Linked DNA regions of Homo sapiens: regions 1, 2, 3 and 4 are each linked to region 5. Evidence: promoter capture Hi-C in 16 types of primary human blood cells and fetal thymus (Javierre and others, 2016). All regions are on one chromosome and are shown on one strand. Each heading gives the region's core, a stretch centred on a gene start or on the middle of the fragment in contact. The rest is flanking DNA. Distances are from core to core; before and after follow the strand shown.

The links. The method cuts DNA at HindIII sites, captures the fragments that hold promoters and counts their contacts. A CHiCAGO score of 5 or more calls a contact.
Region 1: a fragment that was not itself captured here is called in contact with the fragment with the promoter of DPYS in region 5 in 7 of 17 cell types (monocytes, M2 macrophages, M1 macrophages and 4 more); the score reaches 16.8 in monocytes.
Region 2: a contact is called between a fragment that was not itself captured here and the fragment with the promoter of DPYS in region 5, in 1 of 17 cell types (monocytes). The highest score is 6.9, in monocytes.
Region 3: a fragment that was not itself captured here is called in contact with the fragment with the promoter of DPYS in region 5 in 6 of 17 cell types (monocytes, M2 macrophages, M1 macrophages and 3 more); the score reaches 16.6 in monocytes.
Region 4: a fragment that was not itself captured here is called in contact with the fragment with the promoter of DPYS in region 5 in 3 of 17 cell types (monocytes, total B cells and M2 macrophages); the score reaches 15.1 in monocytes.

What each region holds. Positions count from the first base shown.
Region 1 is chr8:103,760,815-103,764,854 of GRCh38, reverse strand. The region is part of intron 5 of RIMS2 (regulating synaptic membrane exocytosis 2); the gene reads right to left. Among named protein-coding and RNA genes, the nearest start is that of RIMS2, 260 kb to the right of the region's middle. The HindIII fragment of the contact is 6,588 bases long and covers 1-4,040 here.
Region 2 is chr8:103,741,454-103,745,390 of GRCh38, reverse strand. The region is part of intron 5 of RIMS2 (regulating synaptic membrane exocytosis 2); the gene reads right to left. Among named protein-coding and RNA genes, the nearest start is that of RIMS2, 240 kb to the right of the region's middle. The HindIII fragment of the contact is 819 bases long and covers 860-1,678 here.
Region 3 is chr8:103,777,248-103,781,133 of GRCh38, reverse strand. All of the region lies in intron 6 of RIMS2 (regulating synaptic membrane exocytosis 2), which reads right to left. Among named protein-coding and RNA genes, the nearest start is that of RIMS2, 280 kb to the right of the region's middle. The HindIII fragment of the contact is 1,080 bases long and covers 810-1,889 here.
Region 4 is chr8:103,804,549-103,808,851 of GRCh38, reverse strand. All of the region lies in intron 6 of RIMS2 (regulating synaptic membrane exocytosis 2), which reads right to left. Among named protein-coding and RNA genes, the nearest start is that of RIMS2, 310 kb to the right of the region's middle. The HindIII fragment of the contact is 8,748 bases long and covers 1-4,303 here.
Region 5 is chr8:104,464,643-104,468,488 of GRCh38, reverse strand. DPYS (dihydropyrimidinase) reads left to right here and starts at 1,434. Exons shown (of 10, transcript NM_001385.3): 1 at 1,434-1,832. The coding sequence starts at 1,569. LOC105375691 (a long non-coding RNA gene) reads right to left here and starts at 2,719. Exons shown (of 3, transcript XR_928507.3): 1 at 2,502-2,719. The HindIII fragment of the contact is 2,857 bases long and covers 608-3,464 here.

The sequences.
Region 1 (4,040 bases), core at 1,300-3,799, 700 kb after region 5:
CTTCTACTAGCATAATAAAACCTTATAAATTATAGAATAGTAAGATATAATAAATGTTTGCTAAGTTTAGGTTGTTTAAAATTCTTCTGGGGGAAATATGGTAATAATATATTTGATATTATTAAGCCAAGATGTATGTTCATTAATTTCCTAAAGAATTAGTCATAAATAATATCAATATATGTATGTATTTTATTTTTATAAGTATTTTGATGTGAAAACACCATTATCTCACTGAAATTAAAAAGAACATGCCTCAGTTCAAATTTCTTTTGCTATAATTAGTTTTAATAGACATGAAATATATCTAACCCATCAACAGTCTCAAAAAATGAAATTTGAGCCAGCATCTCAGCCTTTTGATGCCATCTTGTGACAAACGCAGGTACTACAGATCTCTTTTAAAAAGTCACGCAAAACAGAACCACAAAATAATGTAAAAATAAATGAAGTTTGAATGTCAACTTTTCTGTTTTAAACAAGTTGTTATTTATGCTTCAGTGATAATCTATTCTAGATGATTATAAGATATGAATTTATCTGAATTAGGTCACACTCAGAGTACTGAAGAAGAGCATCCCTTTGTGCCTGGTAATTAACAACAAACGAGAGCTTGTGAGACAGACAATTATCCAATCACTATCATCTGCAGAAACAGCATTTGCTGCTTTGTAACAGTTGAAAAATAAAATTTTTCACAAGGTAAGCAGGTTACTTAATGTATTTCAGAGCAGAGCTTCTCAAAGAATATCCCTGGGAGAATAGCATCAGTATCACCAGAAGTGCCGATTCCCAGGTCCCACCCCAGACTTACTGAATAGGAAACTCTGGGGCAGTGCCCAGCAATATTTTTTCCCCAAACCCTCCAGGTAATTCTGATGTTTGCTAACATTTGAGAACCACCGGTCTATGGCAGAGATTCGTAGTTCAATATGTTAAATGGGTTACAAGTATGCTCCTCAGACTGGCTAAGACCAAAGGAGTTCATACACAGCCTTGTCAGTTTACCTTAGTGTGAACTGCTGACTGTACAAGTAGTATTGTTTCTGTGGAGCCCAAAATGAGAAAAAGAATTGGAAACACTATCAGCTTAATTTTCCTCATCTGTTAATATCTAGTGAATATTAATATAAGACAGATGAGCATAAGGTATGAAGGATGATGTCTGATTCCCATTAAAGACTCTCCATGTGTTAATATCCTTCTCACATTGCCTGGGCTATGCACACTGCTTGTTCCTTTTCTGACTAGATCATTTGTTCCTTCCTAAATCACTAGCTCCTATATCCTTCCTTTCCTCCCTTCTTCCCTCCCTTATTCCGTATCCCTCCTTCCCTTATCCTATATTCCTCGCTTTCTCCCTTCCTTATTTCCTTCCTCCCTCCCTTCCTTTCTTCCTTCTTCTTTTTTTTTTTCCTTGAAACAGGGTCTTACCTTGTCACCTAGGCTGGAGTTCAGCGGCACAATATCAGTTCACTGTAGCCTCAACCTCCCAAGTTAAAATGAATCTCCTGCCTCAGTCCCTCAAGTAGCTGGGAGTATGGGCATGTGCCACCACGCCAGCTAATTTTTGTATTTTTGTAGAGATGGGGTTTCACTATGTTGCCCAGGCTGGTCTTGAATGCCTGAGTTCAAGCAATCTGCCCACTTCAGCCTTCCAAAGTGCTAGGATTACAGATGTGAGCCACCATGCCTCCTAGTATTTTCCTATTCATATATTGACACCCTGGTTACCTTTCTTTTCTTCTTCTACCATCTCCTCCTACTCTTGGATTAATAGTTTATTAATCCTTTAAGCTCAGGAATTCCGGATCTACCCACATCAAGTACTGCCATGTGCTGCATAACAATAGTTCAGTCAACAAAAGACCATATATAGAAGGGTGGTTCCCTAATATTATAATACCGTATTTTTACCATGCCTTTTCTATATTTAAATATGTTCAGATACATAAACACTTTTAATTATGTTACTACTGCCTACAATATTTAATACAGTAACATGTTGTACAGGTTTGTAGCCTAGGAGCAACAGACTATATCATCTAGCCTAGGTGTGTAGAAGGCTATACCATCTAGATTTGTTTAAGTACACTCCATGATGTTAGCATGACAAAATTGCCTAATGATGCACTTCTTGGGCTGTATCTCCATCATTAGCAACACAATTGTAGTACAGAAAAACTGATACTTTCACTTGTAGCCCTTTACACAGAAAGCAGCTTAGCTTATAAATTGGCGACGGTATTGAATTACCTCTCACACACACCAATACCTCTCACAAATACATATATGTTGTGAAATGATTTTTCATTAATTGACTATGAAATGATTAATAGCTATTAGAGATAAATTCTGTGTCCATGGAACAAAATTTATCTAATTTGGCAATAAAGTCACAGGCCTTTTGCTAATAGAACGCTTTAACCAATTAAGTTAACCACATAAGGAATGCCATCTAAAATATGTTAGAAATATATATGCCTATAAATCTCCCTGGTTAGAGACTATTAACTGATTCTCATAATTACCAAAAACATCTAGAACCTGAGAATACAAAACATACAGGGTTCAAAATTATAAATTATTATTACCTTCAGTCCTAAATATGTCAAAATTTTAAAAATAATATAGAAATATTAAGAGATGGAATAATCTCTAATGACCCAAATTTGTCACTTACTTCCATATGTTTTATTCCATAAACATTCTTAGGAATGTTAGGAAAGGAAGGGAAAAAAACTAAGGAAAATACAAATATCTTTTTTAAACCACAAAAATAATAACCATAACAGCTGCAGTGAATACTAAAAGAAAGCAAAAAAAAAAAAAAATTTACATTAGGTATATACAATAATTGAGAGCAATCTAAAGGTCTGCAAAATACTATGATTTTCTTCTAAACAGGGACAAAAAAATAGAGTAATTCAAAAAAGGGAGGGATTATAGTTTAAAGACTTACACTAACGAGACCATAGGCCAAGCTCCTATGATCCAGCTAACTGCACAGAAAAAGGAATTCACTAGACTCTACCTCTAACCATTGCCAACCTGCTTATAAATATGTGTGCATTTGTCAGAGAAGAAATAAGGTAAAAGAGTATAAATTGATCAAGTAACCATTACATAAATAGAAAATTGTGAAAGATTCTGGCTAGCTATTCAACAACTTATTTCCTTTCCTCTTAGAAAACTACATTTTCCATGTTATCTTGGGCAGCTATGACCATACAATTATATTCTACCAATGGATTATAAGTGGAATGGGTGTGCCACTTTCATAAACTTTTAAAAATTCTCATGTGCTATCTTCATGCTGTTCAGCCAAGACCTTGGAGATAAGGAAGCCACAGGAAAAAAAGGTGCCTGGGAACCTGAATAATCACTAGGAGGAGAGCACTCAGCTGATCAGCTTACCAGTGTGGACTTCACATAGGTGAAAACTAAACTTCTACTAAGTTGAGCTTTAAAGATTTTTTGAGTTTACCTTCTATAATTGATTGCATTACCTTGACTAATTCACAGTCTTTTTAAAGTACATGCTTATTCAATGTGTATTACTAGCACAATCTTGTATGTGAAGAACAATCCATTACCAGGGCATGAATATGAAAGAGCTTCGGTGTTGTTCACTAACTCATGAAAACAAATTGTGTGCTTTCTCCCTAACTCCACATTCCATGAAGTAATGTGGGTTAGCTTGAAATCAGCTGTGGTGGATGTATTTAGACTAAATAAATTGGAAAATGCCAAAAGTCAGAGATTTTTCTAAAAGAGAGCTGGTTGTTAGCACGTATGAACACACCAGTGACTATAATATATTCACTACATTCTACTAAAAGAATAATATTACATTTAGTTTAGTAGATAAACTTAGATGAAGCTATAATTTGCCATAAAAATTAATTGAAATCATAGAATTCCAATTTATTTATAGATGGGCAAGTAACTATTAACACCAATTCATTATTTATTTACTTATACAATATTTACTAAATGGCTACTATATGCCAAATGCTATGCTAACAGCTGGTGAATAA
Region 2 (3,937 bases), core at 20-2,519, 720 kb after region 5:
ACAACAAAAGTGTCTTTCGATTGATGAATGAAAAAAAAATGTGGTATAACCATACAATGGAATGTAATTCAGCCATAAAAAGAAACAAAATATTAATTCTTGCTACAACACAGATGAGCCGTAAAAGCATAATAGGAAATGTCCAGTACAGATAACTCCATAGAATAAGAAAGTAGATTAGTGATTGCAGGGGTATAGGGAAGTAAGGGAGTGACTACTAATGGGTACAGGGGTTTTTTGGGAAGATAGTGATGAAAATGTTCTGGAATTGGACAAATTGTGATGGTTGCATGACACTGTTAATGTACTAAAAACCACTAACTTGTATACTTTAAAATAGTTAATTTTACTATATAAATATCTCAACTAAAAAATGTTTTAATGTAGCTCTTCTACAGAAAATATTAGGCCCAGATGGCTTTTGTATTATTTCAGGCTTTTCTACAAGCAGATCCTGAGCCCAACATTTGATGCAAAGAAGTTTATTTGAATGACAATCCAAAAAAGTATAGTCAGAGTGAAGAAGTGAAACATGAAAGGTAGGAAAGCCAATAGATGTCAATTAAAGAGTAGATTATTTCTAGGGGCAAATCTTGGCCATGATGAGACCTTCTCAGAATCAACCCACTGAAGAGCAAGGGGTCTGGGGTATTTATATATTAGCTCATTGGCATGCCTGTCTCTCCTCTTCAGGTTAGGCCTGTTCCCTTGGCCATAAAATGCCCTTAGGCATAGAGGCACAGGATGCAATTGTTATGTTCAGGAACCATTTGCAGGTACCATTTGGAATGGGCTGAAGGCATATGAGTAGGGTACATATAACAATTGTTACAGTTTTGCAGGTGAATCCTACTAAGCTTTTCAGGAACCATTAATTCGTATCTTAAGTAAATTGTTCCATAAAATTAAATTTAAAAAAAATAAAGCCATACAGCTCATTTTATGAAAATAATATAATTTTGACACAAGATAAGCAAAGCACAGGCCAATTCCACTGACATATATTTGGAGCCAAAACATAAGCCAAAACTTAAATATAAAAATCCTAGCTGGGCGTGGTGGCTCATGCCTGCAATCCCAGCACTTTGGGAGGCTGAGGTGGGTGGATCGCAAGGTCAAGAGATCGAGACCATCCCGGCTAACATGGTGACACCCCATCTCTAGTAAAAATACAAAAATTAGCTAGGCGTGGTGGCGCATGCCTGTAGTCCCAGCTACTCAGGAGGCTGAAGCAGGAGGATCACTTAAACCTGGGAGGCAGAGGTTGCAGTTAGCTGAGATCCTGCCACTGCACTCCAGCCTGGCAACAGAGCAACACTTCGTCTCAAAAAACAAACAAACAAACAACAACAAAAAATCCTACACAACTAGGAAACATACCATATTATAATCAATACCATTTAACTCCTTGAATGTAAGGATGATCCAACTCAAATGTACTTCAACGTATTAATAGACTAAAGGAGAAAAAAATCATTTGATTCTCTCAATCAATGAAGAAAAAGCATTTAATAAAGTTCAACCCCATTTATGTCTTAAAGTAATTCTTAGAAAACTAGAAATACAAGTGTATTTCTTTAACTTGGTAACAGAAATAGGAATAAAAGGACATTTCCTTAGAATGGTAAAGATTATATATCAAAACACTGTGTCAAAGATTATACTTAATGGGGAAGCTTTAGATTCATTCCCTTTAAATTTGCATACTATCTGACCAAATAAAACCAGGTTTTCTCAAATACTTCCTTAGAGCATAAATTAATATATGTTTACAATATAAATGTAAACAAAAGAATCTGTGATATCAATAAAATCATAAGTAATAAATATAGATGCTAATTATACGATATGACAAAAAGGAAACTTCAGTTCAGTTATGCCACTTTTAAATGATCTTGATAGCTAGGTAAACTATAATGCGGTTTTTTTATCCTAATAATCCAGAGTTATCAATTTTTAAAGAATATTTTCAAATCAGACACTGTTAACTCAATGGAATAGAAACTGCAGATAAACAAATTTATCCGGCAATAATTCTGGAGTCATCATAATTTTCTTAACTTAGTTTCCCAATAGATCTCTAAAGTATTCATTGTAGTCAATTGGCAAATATCTTGAAAAGAAAGAAATATATGGCTGATTCCTGTTATATACATGAAATATAGAATGCATTTGTAGATTAGATGTTGACATAAATGGAGTTGTGTCAACAGCTAACAAAAGTACTTGCTTATTAAAGGTGCAGAGTTTTCTTCTGTGTCCAGAGAACATTAGTGATGCTACAGTTATACACCCATGACTAAAACAAGGTACTTGCTAAACAAATTTTGGAAGAGGGCATAAAAGGAACTTAACTGACATCCTTTATAAAAATATCTTAATTGCTAATAATGTAGATCAGACCTTAAAAAGCCTGTTCATGGTACGCTATCTTATAATAAACTAATGCTGTTTAATAGCTTGAAATTTGTTAGAATTCATAAAGCATTAAGAAGAAAGGTACGAGTATATGTAAGATAATGTCCTCAGATATATAATCCTCCTGGGAAAGTGACTCCTAATTATGAAAGAATGCACTGCTCCAGAGAGCCCCTGAGAGATTCTGCCCTTGAGGCATCGTTGTTAAAGAAAACAGCATGAAACCATCTCTCTTGAAGCATCATTTATTCACAAAACATTCAAACCCTAAAGAAAACTATTCACATTATAAGAAAACAGAGGGTATTAGCAACTTACAAGCAGTTAATCAAGACTGGCTTTAGAGAGCTTTTATAAATTAATATTGCTCACTACTAAAGCTAGGAAATCTTATATGACAAAAAGGGTTATTGCGTCTGCTACAAAAGTGAAAAGCTAAAAGGATGTTGCCTGGTAAGTCTGTCAGTGCAATTGTATTAAACCCTTACAGATATAATTATAGAGTTTATAAAACTGCAGAAGGCATTGTTCAGATCATGGCAAAAGTAATGGTAGAAGATATTACTTACAGACTCATTATGTACATATGGTTCTAGTCATTTGCAATCATAACAAAAATAACATATTTGATGAAATGATGGCACATTAAGAGACTTGCCCAGGAATCCACTAGTGAAGAGAATTCAAAACTGTAAATACTCACATTTAGGTTGTTTTGGTTTTACTTGGCTAAATATATAAGGATCTTCAGGATCTTTATATCCATCTCAAGAATGGAGTTGACTCAGTGGATAATCATAAGAAATAGACTAATGGATAATACTTATACTTTAAAGCCTACATTGAAAGCATTCATATTCATAAAGAAACTGTTCTTAAGAAGTTGAGTCCTGATTGGAGTATCAGATGCTACCATTAACATGGGAACTATTATTAATACAGCATTAATACATATAATATTAAATTTTTTCAAGTGGTGAGTAAGTAAACAGGGTGCACTCATACATAGCTTTTGTCACAGTATGTAATCACATTCTCAGATGATCTGTATTAACATACTTATTTAAATCGCAAAGTAAAGTGAGACTTTCTCTGACAGAAAGTTTCATGTGGCTGATTGGTTTGACAACAGGACCAGCTTTGGAAATTAGCTCATATGTTTCACATTTTCGATAAGCTCAAAGCTAAATATATAGTTCTAAGATACTTATAAAAATAACTTAAAGCATGTGAAAAGGCAAAATAACTTTATCAACAGTAACTGTAATCGGCAGGGACGCTAAAATGAGCATTTTCCAAATCCTTTTTAGTATATTGACTTAAACAAGGTGCCTCTAAGTGAAAGGATGGTTAAGTTTAAATAGTCATTTGATAAGTCTTGGTACAGCTTTTTTGGTATAACTCCCAGAAACAGACAGAATGACTCACCACCTGGGTAACAAATCATTTTGCAAGCCTGGTGTCTTCAATTCTTTGCTTTCAACAAGTTGAGAAAAAAACCTAAATTAATAGTCAGCTG
Region 3 (3,886 bases), core at 100-2,599, 690 kb after region 5:
TCAGAGGGGCTATTCCACAGCACCATGCTACAGGAGGTATATTCCATAGATCCCCTGGGCATGAGCCCCTGGCCAGCCTCCCAACACTGCCAGAATATCCCCTTTGGACTTTTCCCATTCAGTATGGGCAGCAACCCAATCATTTACTACAGCCAGGCAAACTTTGGCTTAAGGTACCATCCAGCAACAAAAAGAAGGCAGCAACCTAGAAAAAAAAAATCAACAGGTAAACTAAAAAGAATCTCTAAGAAAACAAGTCAAGTAAAAAACAAAACAAGCCAGACAGGGAAGATTGGAATAAATAACCTTTCAATGCAAAGACATAGAAAGACATCCCCAAGAAGCAATAGCAAACAGGAAACCATTATCTCTCCAAATGGACAAACCAAGGAACCAGCTACTGATGCCACTGAGAGAGTGATATGTGAGCTCTCTCACATAAAAAAATAGCAGTTTTAAGGAAATTCAGTGATCTCCAAGTTAACACAGAAAGCAATTCAGGAATTCATCTGAGAAATTTAGCAACAATATTAAAATAATTTTTAAAAAACAAAAATCTTGCAACTGAGAAATACATTGGCTGAACTGAAAAAAATCATTAGAGGCTCTCAACAACAGAATGGATCAAGCAGAGGAAAGAATCGGAGAGCTTGAAGACAAGCATTTGAAAATACGATCAGAGGAGAAAGAAGAAAAACAATGAAAAATATGAAGATGATCTACATGAAATAGAATATTACCAGAAAAGACCAAATCTAAGAATTATTTGTGTCTAAGAGGGAGTTGAACAAGAGCAAAAGGTAAAAGCTTCAAAGAAATAATGTTGAAATTTTTCCAAAACTTGAGAAATACATAAATATCCAGGTAGAGGAAGGTCAGAGAATATCAAAGAGATTCGACCCAAATAATACTAACTCAAGTCATCTAATAATCAAATCCTCAAAGGTAAAGGATAAAGAGAGGATCCTAAAAGCAGCTAGAAGAAAGAAGCAAGTAACATATAAAGGACTCCAATTCATCTGATAATTTCAAGAGAAATTCATCTGATAATTTCAAGGGATGTTAGAGGCCTCACACTACCTAACTTCAAAATGTACTACAAAGCTATGGTAACCAAATCAGTATGGTACTGGCATAAAAACAGACACATAGACCAATGAAACAGAATAGAGAATCCAGACATAAACCCATGCATTTATAGCCAACTCACTTTCTTTCTTTTTTTTTTTTAATTATACCTTAAGTTTTAGGGTACATGTGCACAATGTGCAGGTTTGTTACGTATGTATATATGTGCCATGTTGGTGTGCTGCACCCATTAACTCGTCATTTACATTAGGTATATCTCCTAATGCTATCCCTCCCCCCTCCCCCCACCCCATGACAGGCCCTAGTGTGTGGTGCTCCCCACCCTGTGTCCAGGTGTTCTCATTGTTCAATTCCCACCTATGAGTGAGAACATGCGGTGTTTGGTTTTCTGTCTTTGCAATAGTTTGCTCAGAATGATGGTTTCCAGCTTCATCCATGACCCTACAAAGGACATGAACTCATCCTTTTTTATGGCTGCATAGTATTCGATAGCCAACTCATTTTCAACAAAGGCACCAAGAACATTCATAGGGTGAAAGGATAGTCTTTTCAATACACTGTGCTGGGAAAACTGGATATTCATATACAGAAGAATGAAACTAGAATCCTATCTTTCACCATATAAAAAAATCAAATCAAGATGGATTAAAAACTTATATTGAAGACCCAAAACTGTGAAATTACTAGAAGAAAACATTGGGAAAATGTTCCAGGACATAGATCTGGGCAAAGATTTTGAATAAGGCCTCAAAATCACAGGCAGCCAAAGCAAAAACAGACAAATGGGATTCTATCAAGCTTAAAAGCTTCTGCACAGAAAAGAAAACAATAAACAAAATGAAGAGACAACCCATATAATGGCAGAAAATATTTGCAAACTATCCATGTAGCAAGGAATTGATAACCAGAATATATAAAGAGCTCAAACAACTCAGTAGCAAAAAACCAACTAATCCAATTTAAAAGTGGGCAAAAGATCTGAACAGACATTTCTCAGAGGAAAACATACAAATGACCAACAGGTATATGAAAAATGTTCAACATCACTAATAATCAGAGAAATGCAAATCAAATCACAATGAGATATCTTCTCACCCCAGTTAAAATGACTTCTTCAAAAAGACAAGGATAAGGGATACTGGTGAGGATGTGGAAAAAGGAGAACTCTCATACACTTGGTGGGGACATAAATTAGTATAGCCACTATGGAGAAGAGTTTGGCGGTTCCTCAAAAAACTAAAAATAGAACTATCATATGATCCAGCAACTGCACTACTGAGTATACATCCAAAAGAAATGAAATTAATGTATTAAAGAGATATCTGCACTCCCATGTTTAATGCAGCACTATTCACAATAGCCAAAATATAAAATCAACCTAAATGCCTATCAATGGATAAACAGATAATGTGACATATATATAGAATGGAATATTATTTGGCCATAAAAAGAATGAAATCCTGTCATTTGCAGCAACATGGATGGAACTGGAGGTCATTATGTTAAGTGAAATAAGCCAAGCACAGAAGACCAAATATTACATGTTCTCACTCATGTAGGAACTACAAAAGTGGATCTCATGAAGATCTCTAGAAAGTAGATTGATGGTTACCAGAGGCCAGAAAGGGCAGAGGGAAGGAGCATAAGGAGGTTGATAAATGGATACAAATATACAATTAGATAGAAATAAGACCTAGTGTTTGATAGATCAGTAGGATGATACTAGTTAACAATAATCTATTGTACATTTCAAAATAGCCAGAAGAGAAAAATTTGAATATTACCAGCATAAAGATAAGATATTTAGGTAATGGATATCCCAACTACCTTGATTTGGTCTTTACATATTATATGAATGTGTCAAAATATCCTATGTATCCCCAAAATATGTATATGTATTATACATCAATAAAAAATCAAAAATACATAAATGTGTACTTTTCATGTCACTCCATTTTTTTACTTCTAACCTATGAAGAAAAGTAACAAACTTTTTAAAAATGTCAAAGTCATAGCAAGTTTTGACATTTTTAAATGTCAGCAAAGAAAAGATAACTTAAAATTATATGCTATGATTGAGTTCCGAAGTTGTTACTCTTGTCTTTGTAGCCAGTTTATACCCAATTTTGTACCCAGTTTATACCCAATTTTGTACCCAGTTTATACCCAATTTCATACCCAGCATGAAACAAAATTCTATTTTTATCTTTTTAAGAGTGGATTTTTTTTATGGTCCACAAATCAATTTTGATAACCAATGTCAGATCAAAATGCATACAGCCCATTTTAAAATACTTTTATATGCATACCATTATGAAATCAAATGATGAAATATTTTAACAGCTTTCAAATGGCAGAATTTATATTTATTTTCTGTCTATATCAACCCTAATTAGCATAAAGCACTGTTCAACTATATGCTATCTTAGACCTCAACTGTATTTTCATCACCAAAATAAATAAAATAGCTTTTTACTTAAATAAAATAGCTTTTATATAAGTTATCTTAATTCCCAAGCAGGATATATGATACATATGCCAATAATGTACTGATTTTCAATATGAAAGCCAGTACAAAACTCCTTTCATTCATTTATTCAGAAATTTCTATTGATGATCATTTTTCATTCCATGTAGAACAGCTGACCAGTGAAAATGTTTTGGAAAGACACAAAAGAATAGATATACTGAAAAAAAGAGGCAAGATACTGGGATAGAGTTCATAGCATTTGAGTCCGTAACTCTGTTTGTAAGGTCTCTCTTCATTCTTTTCCTGGGGTTCTGTCCTTTTAATTCT
Region 4 (4,303 bases), core at 1,277-3,776, 660 kb after region 5:
ATCATTTAGAAAGCTAATGTAATAGTCCAGGCAAGATTTTAGTTGGCCTGGATTAAAGTGATCATAACAAGATAGAGAAAAAAGAATAGACTTAAAAGGTAGAAGTCGAATCAACAGGACTTAGTCGTTGATTGGTCACAGTCAAGATAGGTGTAAAAAGTAACTCTTAGATTTATCTCTTAAGTACCAAGTAGACAGTCTTAAAATTTGCTGAGACAAAGAATGCTAAAGGAGAAGCAGGTTGAGGGAGAAGAAAGGGGAAGATGATGGATTGCTGAATTTGAGGTGCATGCAAGACAGCTAACAAGACAGAGAAGTAAGCAATTAAATATGTCACTCTGCAGTTCAGAAGAGAGTTCTCAACTGAAGATATAACTTTAGGAAGCATCAGCGTGTTAGTAATGATTTCAACCAAGCAAGTAGATGAGATCACCCGGAGATAAAATTTAAAAGGAAAAACACGCAAATAAGAGGTTTATGACAAAGCATTGAGGAGCTAAGTTCCACATTAACTCATCAGTTAAAGAAGGAGAAGCCAGTGAAGGAAACAGAAGAGGAGCAGCCACAGAGGTAAGAGAAAAGTCAAGAGAGAGAGTGTGGTAGCCCGGAAGACAATAAAAGACAGTATTTTAAGAAAAATATTATGATCAACTCTGTTATATATTCTGCCATTTGGAAACTGAAGAATTGCTGCTTGTTTTCCTGTGCTTCAAAACAACTCTCGGGAAAATAGCTCTTTTGGCCTGAAATCACTCAATCCATAAAACCCAGATCTAGCCTATGAAATGTAGTCTAGGAATAGACATCTTCTTAGCCTCTTCCATCATCCCCCTTTCCTCCTTTGGTGAAAGGTAAGCAAATAAAATTTTTAGTCTTTTTTCAGCCAAAACAGAAGATCTGATGCAAATAAACTCATGCAAATCTAAATGTATTTCAATCTAATCTTATCAACTTAAAAAATATAATTTGTCTGACCTGTAAATATGGACAGAGATCAGGATTAATCAAAGATCCTAGCTACTTAAAAGTAAAGGTGTTTAAGCACCAAATGTGAAAATAGAAAAGAAAGGAAAATATAATATAAACAAGATCTATTCTATCAATTTTCCATCTGTCTTACCCTTTTTATTACCAGCTCCTCCATAAAATACCTAGTTTATTTACTCTTTAGTCTATTTTAGAACTCCCTTGGTTCCAATGATACTTGTAATGATAAACAAATAATATTAATTGTATATGTGAATCAAGTTATCAGTGATTTTATTACTATATTATTTCCTATCTTAACAGAATTTCCCTTGACCTCATATTCCCTTCCAGGTACTACCCCATTTTTCTGCTCCTCTTCACAGCAAAATTTCTTGAAGAAGTTGTCTTTAGTTGCTATGGCCATGTTTTCATTTCACATCCTCTTTTAAATCCATACTAATCAATTTTCTAGCACTAATGTTCTATTGAGATTGTTCTCACCAATTACTTGCATGTTATCAAACTAAACAGACAATTCTCTGTTCTTTTTTTACCATGACTTATCTGTATCATTTGACACTAATGCTATCCATGACTTTTAAACCATTTTTACTCTTCATTCCTGAGACACATTCTTCTGATTTTCTTTCACAGTGTCAATTTTTTCACAGTGTCTTTTGTTGGCTCTCATTCCTCTCTTAGATCTTTAAATGTGTGGAATGTCCAAGGCCCTGTTTTGGCTGTGTTGTGAACCCTCTCTGCTCTTTTTATTTACAGCTCCCCCTTCCCGGTGACTTAGGTCCCATGGCTTTAAATATCTTCTGTATATCTTTGCCCTTATCTTCCCCTAAAACTCCAGACTCATTTAACCATCTGTCAATTTGGAATCCCCAAACGGAAGTCAAAAGGGCATCTCAAACATAACAAGGCCAAACAGAATTCCTGATTTCCTCACCCAAACCTGTTCCTCCCATTTTTTTTCTGTCTTAAAACAACACCATGATTTATCTAGGAATTAACCTTGATATCTCTTTTGCTTTCACACTCCACCACACAAATCAAATCTATCGGTAGGTTCTATCAACTCTATCTTCAAAATGGAACACAAATCCATGAACATTTTCCATCTCACTACTATAATTCTAGTTCCATCTACCAACATCTCTCTAATGGATGACTTCAATAATCTCCTAGCTTCTCGGTGCATTAATCTTGTCCTCTACAAACCATTCTCCACCAAAGATTGCCCACACACACACACACACAAAATAATATCATGCTCCTTCCATGTTTAAACCCTACAATAGTATCTTATCACATTTAAAATAGAATCTAAACCTCCTCCGTCTACAGAAAAGAGATGTGATGCACTGTTTCATCCAAGGCTTTTTGGACCAAATGGCTGGTGACAAAGTTAGAACTAGTACCTAGAGCTTGTGATTTATAGTCCAGTGCTCCTTCCACGGTACTACTGTATCTGTCATTCAGCAACTTCTTATGGAACTCTCATTTAAAATGTAAGTTAGTGTTATAGTTTCTAAGGGTCCTTGGAATTTAAAATCCAAAGGTGATGTAAAAATACAGATAAAAAGAACAAGGCCTTCAGCCTTGAAGATAAACATAACCCTTAAGCCTTATGTTTTCTGAGAGAATAAAACAATAAAGCATAGATTCAAACATGTTTAGACAGAAAAAAGAAATATTGCAAGAGCACAAATCAAATCTTCATAATCCTTCCACCCTCATGACTCTAATTCTTATTAAACGAAGTCAAATAGAAGAGAATCTGTTGTCTTACCACTTTCCAGACAGGGGTTTTAAGTTATATCTCAAAACTTTATGTTAAATTTTTCATATAAGTGAGTTTCAGATATATATCACAGAAATGAAAAAGTTATTTTATATTGCAACAATTTTGACTCCCCACACACTGTAGTCTTGCCATCTTGGTTATATGAAGAATATTATAAATATTTCTGAGAGATGTAACTAAAATTTATTAATCCTGCTTTATCACAACTGATTAAGTCTGAGGCAGAGGAAAGGAAGACTAAAGTGATTAAAGAGATTAAATATACAGAAAACTCAATAGGAATTTGAAAATATCAATGAGGAAAAATAAGGTGAAAACTAGCTCTAAGAAATAGACAAAAAAGTTCAGGTGGAAATATAATAAAAGAAGAAATGAAAAGAAAAAGTGGAAGAGAGATTGCATTAGTAGGGATTGGGAAGTCAAAATAAAGTTTAATTTTCCAGCTCAAGCACTGTGTAATTAGGTAAGCAAAGTGAGAACTGTTCTACTAATAACCTTCAAACCAACCTTGAAAGACCTTATTTCCAAACAAAGAGTTCCAGACCATACCTTAAAATTTCCAACTGTGTCAAATAATAGATGTTAGCAACTCTCAGGTATGTATCACAGAAATAAAAATAGTTGATTATATGTGACAAAAATTTTGACTCTCTGTACTATTTATTTTTGCTGACTTAGTTATTTAAAAAAACAAGAGTAGCTGCAGCTTACTAAAGAAGAAATCTACACAACATATTAATGTTAATAACACTAAGATGCATCCCAAATCTTATGACAATAGTGAATTTATCATATATTGAGCTATCTTGAGATTCATGGGACTAATTCACTCTTCAGGATTCCTAGGGATAAAAAAGGTCACACAAAATTAAACAAAAACACTCAAGAGAAATAACAATTAGTACCATTATTAAGTATTACACATACAGAAAAAAACACATACATAAAAATAGATACACACACTTTTTTTTAAATGAGGCTGGGTGTGGTGGTTCATCCTGTAATGCCAGCGCTTTAAGAGGCCAAGGCAGGAAGATTGCTTGAGGCCAGAGTTTGAGACTAGCCTGGGCAACATAGTCAGACCCCATCTTAACAAAAATAAAAAATTAGCTGGGTGTGATGGCATTCACCTATAGTCCTAGCTACTTAGGAGGCTGAGGTAGGAAGATTGCTTGATCTCAGGGGCTAGGGGTTGCAGTGATCTATGACTGTACCTCTGCACTCCAGCCTGGGTGACAGAGCAAGACTCTCAAAGAAAAAAAAAAGACAATTTCTACAAACTCCTTATAAGTGAAAAACTACAGTTTAAAAACTCCTCTTGGGTTTTAAATCAAATCTCTCAATGGCTACAGCACCTTTGCAGGTAAATACCACAGTCAAAATATGCCAGGATGATTTAGAAAAACTCTGTCTCAATTCACTACATATTAAACATATTCCTATCTATTCCTCCTAGAAATAAGAGTCAGTAAGGATCTACTGCATTTTCTTACCAGGAGGAGCAGAGAAAATAAACCACAT
Region 5 (3,846 bases), core at 185-2,684:
AATGCCAGTGACTGTTACCAGAATAAGGACAAGAATATATGCCTGGTCAGCAGATGTCCACCCCACCTCCCCATGACCCTTCATAACCCTTTTGCAAGATTCCATCCTGTTGCCCTTCTTAAAATTCTGCATTCCTGCCTTCCATCACACAGACCTGTGGTCTCCCTTCTCTCTGACCACTCTGTCTCTTCTTCCTCCTCCTCCCCTATAAGCAAAGGGATGGTCCAGGATTCAGTGTAAGCCTATCCCTCATAGCTTAACCACAGGGAGTGCATTCCTTCATCCTCTCTGTGCCTTTACACGCTCTGTTCACTCTACCTGGAGCACTATGTCCTCTTCCCACCACTCACCTCTGCGTGTTCACATTCTCTGTATCCTAGTTCAAATACCTCTTCACAAATCTTCCATATCTGATGTCTTTAAGCCAGAAATAAACTCACTCTTTCCTCTAAATTCTTATCTTTATCCCTTCTCAAAGATAGAATGTTCTGTTTTATATATTGAAATATGAATGTGTGTCACTGTTGGCTGTTAGCTACTTGAGGGTGGAAATGTGGTTTATCTTTCCCACTTAGCCCTCTAGCCAATCCCCCTAGTCAGGTAAGCTTTGTAGTCCTTACAAAGCCAGTATTTAAGTGAATTTGCATGGTGCTTCCCACTTTATTAGGGTGTATTCACAGCCATGATCATATTTGCTTCTCAAAGCAAATATGGAAGGCAAGAACAAGTATTAATCAATTTTATATATGAGAAAACTGAGGAACCAAGAGAATAAAAGATTTAACTGAAGATCTCTAAACTGGTTTTGTGGAAAAGCTGGGAGTAGAAATTTAAATCTTTAGAGTTACAGTACCGGTTATTTTCCAAGAAACACTTGCTGGTATGTGTTGTATCATTAAACTGTGGAGAATAGTTGACACCAAGTCGTTTTCTTTCAAATACATTAAATATTTTACTCTGATCCTTCCCTGTGTCTGCCAATTACTGGGATTATATGATAATTTGCTCCTCGCTTAAGAACATTTAACAGGAAACCCAGATCGAGTGGCTCTGTTCTGGCTTGGGTGGGTTTGGGTATTTTTGTTGCTGCTTCTAGTGATGGTTCTTGCTTTCTTTCTCCCTCTGGATCTGTCTTTTGGTACAAACACACCCCCAACCAAGGGAAAGGGTGAGGTGGATTTCTTTCCCTTTAGCACCTAATCTTATGATGAAAAACGCAGGTTCCTTTCTCTTAAAATTCCAAGATCTTTCCCTTCCAATGACTCCGAAGCCTGGGTGGATACCTCAACTCAGGGCGCAGAACACTTGGGGTCTGAGTGTGCAAGGACCATGCGGACCTGTTCAATCCCGGCCTTTGGGCTCCAGCCCAGCCTTCCCGGGGGGAGGAGCCGCATATGCGGCCAGGTCATAAACCCGTCAGGCCGCCGGGCTCCGGATTTGCAGCCTGAGGCAGAGCTCGGGGGCTGTCGGTGGGGACCTTGCAGGAGGGCACCCCAAGCCCGCCCGGCCCGCCCAACCCAGCCCCTGCGCGCAGCCCGGGCCGAGTAGGACCCCGCGCGCCCCTCGCTATGGCGGCGCCCTCGCGGCTCCTGATCCGCGGGGGTCGCGTGGTCAACGATGACTTCTCGGAGGTGGCCGACGTGCTGGTGGAGGACGGCGTGGTGCGGGCACTCGGGCACGACCTGCTGCCTCCCGGGGGCGCTCCTGCGGGGCTGCGGGTCCTCGACGCCGCCGGCAAGCTCGTCCTGCCCGGAGGCATCGACACACACACGCACATGCAGTTCCCCTTCATGGGCTCGCGGTCCATCGACGACTTCCACCAGGGCACCAAGGTACCCGCCCCGCCGCGCCCCCGCCCCGCGGTACCCACGGAGGCTCGGGCAGCCTCCCCAGTCGTCCCGGGGTCCTCAGCAGGGCCGCCTCGCGCGGCGCGGCGCCGAGGAGCTGGGTGGGCGGGAAGGAGCGCAGCCCCGGCGGGTGTCAGAGGGGACTCAGATTCTCTTCGCTGGGGTCCCTTTCAGGCGCCCCTTCTCGGCGGCAGCCGAGCAGCCTTGGCTCAACCAGATGCCCTCGACTCCTCCTTTAGTGGTTAATTTGACGAGTTTAAGGCCATCCCCTTACCCTAATTTCTCTATACCGCTTACTCCCCAAATCTCCCCGCAACCCCATTTTGATTGGTGTTCTGTGGAAGTCGCAAATCTTCCATACATTCTTTAGAATCTTTTTTTAAAGTAGGCACTTCCAGCCATTTCTCCCAACCATTTCGACCCATCCTTTATCCCCAACCAAAACCAAATGAAAAATCCATTCACCTGGTAGTTACAGCCTTGACTCAAAGTGAGCAGTGTAGCAGGTAATGTGTCTGAGTAGGCTAGATGCCCACCGTGTTCACGTTCCCGTCCCCTACCCTCTGCCCCCACTCCCACCCCCAGTAGAAAAAATATAGCCCCGACCAGGGTTTAGAAGAGAAAGTATTCCAGAAATGATCTCGCAACACTCACACACACCAACGCAGCCTCGCAGCAGGCTCTTTTCTCCATCCCACTTGCGCTGGGGACACAACATTCTTGCTGCTGGAGTACCCATAGTTTTACTGATGTTGCAGGAGGGTAATCAGATCACCACTCCCCAGGTGAAGGTAGGCTTGGGTTTCTCTAGATACAAAGGCCTAGAAGTTTGGGTCAATGAAAGGAAACTTAAACCAAACTTGTCCAACCTGTAGGCCGCATGCAGCCCAGGACAGCTTTGAATGCGGCCCAACACAAATTCATAAACTTTCTTAAAACATTATGAGATTTTTTTTCTTAGTTCATTGGCTGTCGTTAGTGTTAGTATATTTCATGTGTGGCCCAAGACAAGAGAAGCCAAAGATTGGACACCCCTGCAACATTTCCCCAAAGCTCCTCAACACAAGATCAAGAGACTAACAGAGCAGCTTTACAGGAACATAGAGTAAAAATTCTACTCTCAGCACTTGGGCTAAAGTAAAGCCCACATCCTCCCTAAGTCCTGTGTTTTGAGCTGCCTTGAGAGAAATGGCTCCTTCCAAAGTGAAGATGTATTGATATACTAAAGGCCTTGGCTTTTCACTTGGACCATACCTTGATGTGTGAAACAAGTTGGGCTATTAAGTCCAGTGTATAGTAGGCTTCCTTCCTCCCTCCCTCCTTCTCTCCATCACTCCCTCCCTTCTTTCTCCCCCCACTACCCCCTCCACCCCTCTCTTTCTTTCTATTCCCATGTTACTGTGGACAGGCTGACAGTCTTCCAAAGCAGTTTTGGTGATAGCTACTTCATTCATATACTGATTTCTGACAGTTTTGCTCTCCTTACACCTCCCCCTCTCCAAGTTCCCCAATCCTCTATAATTGACTGGAATGATTAACAGAAAAAAAGGAAGGCAGGTAGATTTGACCCAGAGAGAAGGATCTGGGCAGGCTGCTCAAATCACCATTTGGAAAGCTTCTTCCTGATTACTAATTATCAACCTATATCTTTATGTCAATAAAGTCTTTTGTAGGACAGATTGTTGTATGGTTTGAAAATTAGCAAACTTTGTTTTGTTTATTCATTTTTCCCTTTTGCTAAAAAGTAATATGCACTGAATTTGAATGAACTTATTTTTCCATTTTAAAGAATTTTTTAGCTATCAAAACAATATGTGATTGTAGGAAACAATTGGAAAAATAATAGGAAAATTAAAAGAAGCAAAACATTAATAATACTCTCCCTCTCAGTGACAGCCAATGTTTTGGTGTATTGCCTTTATGCTTTTTAGCATGCTCTATTTTACATAATCGATATCATATTGTGCATGTGTCTGTGTGTGTACACCTATATTTAAAA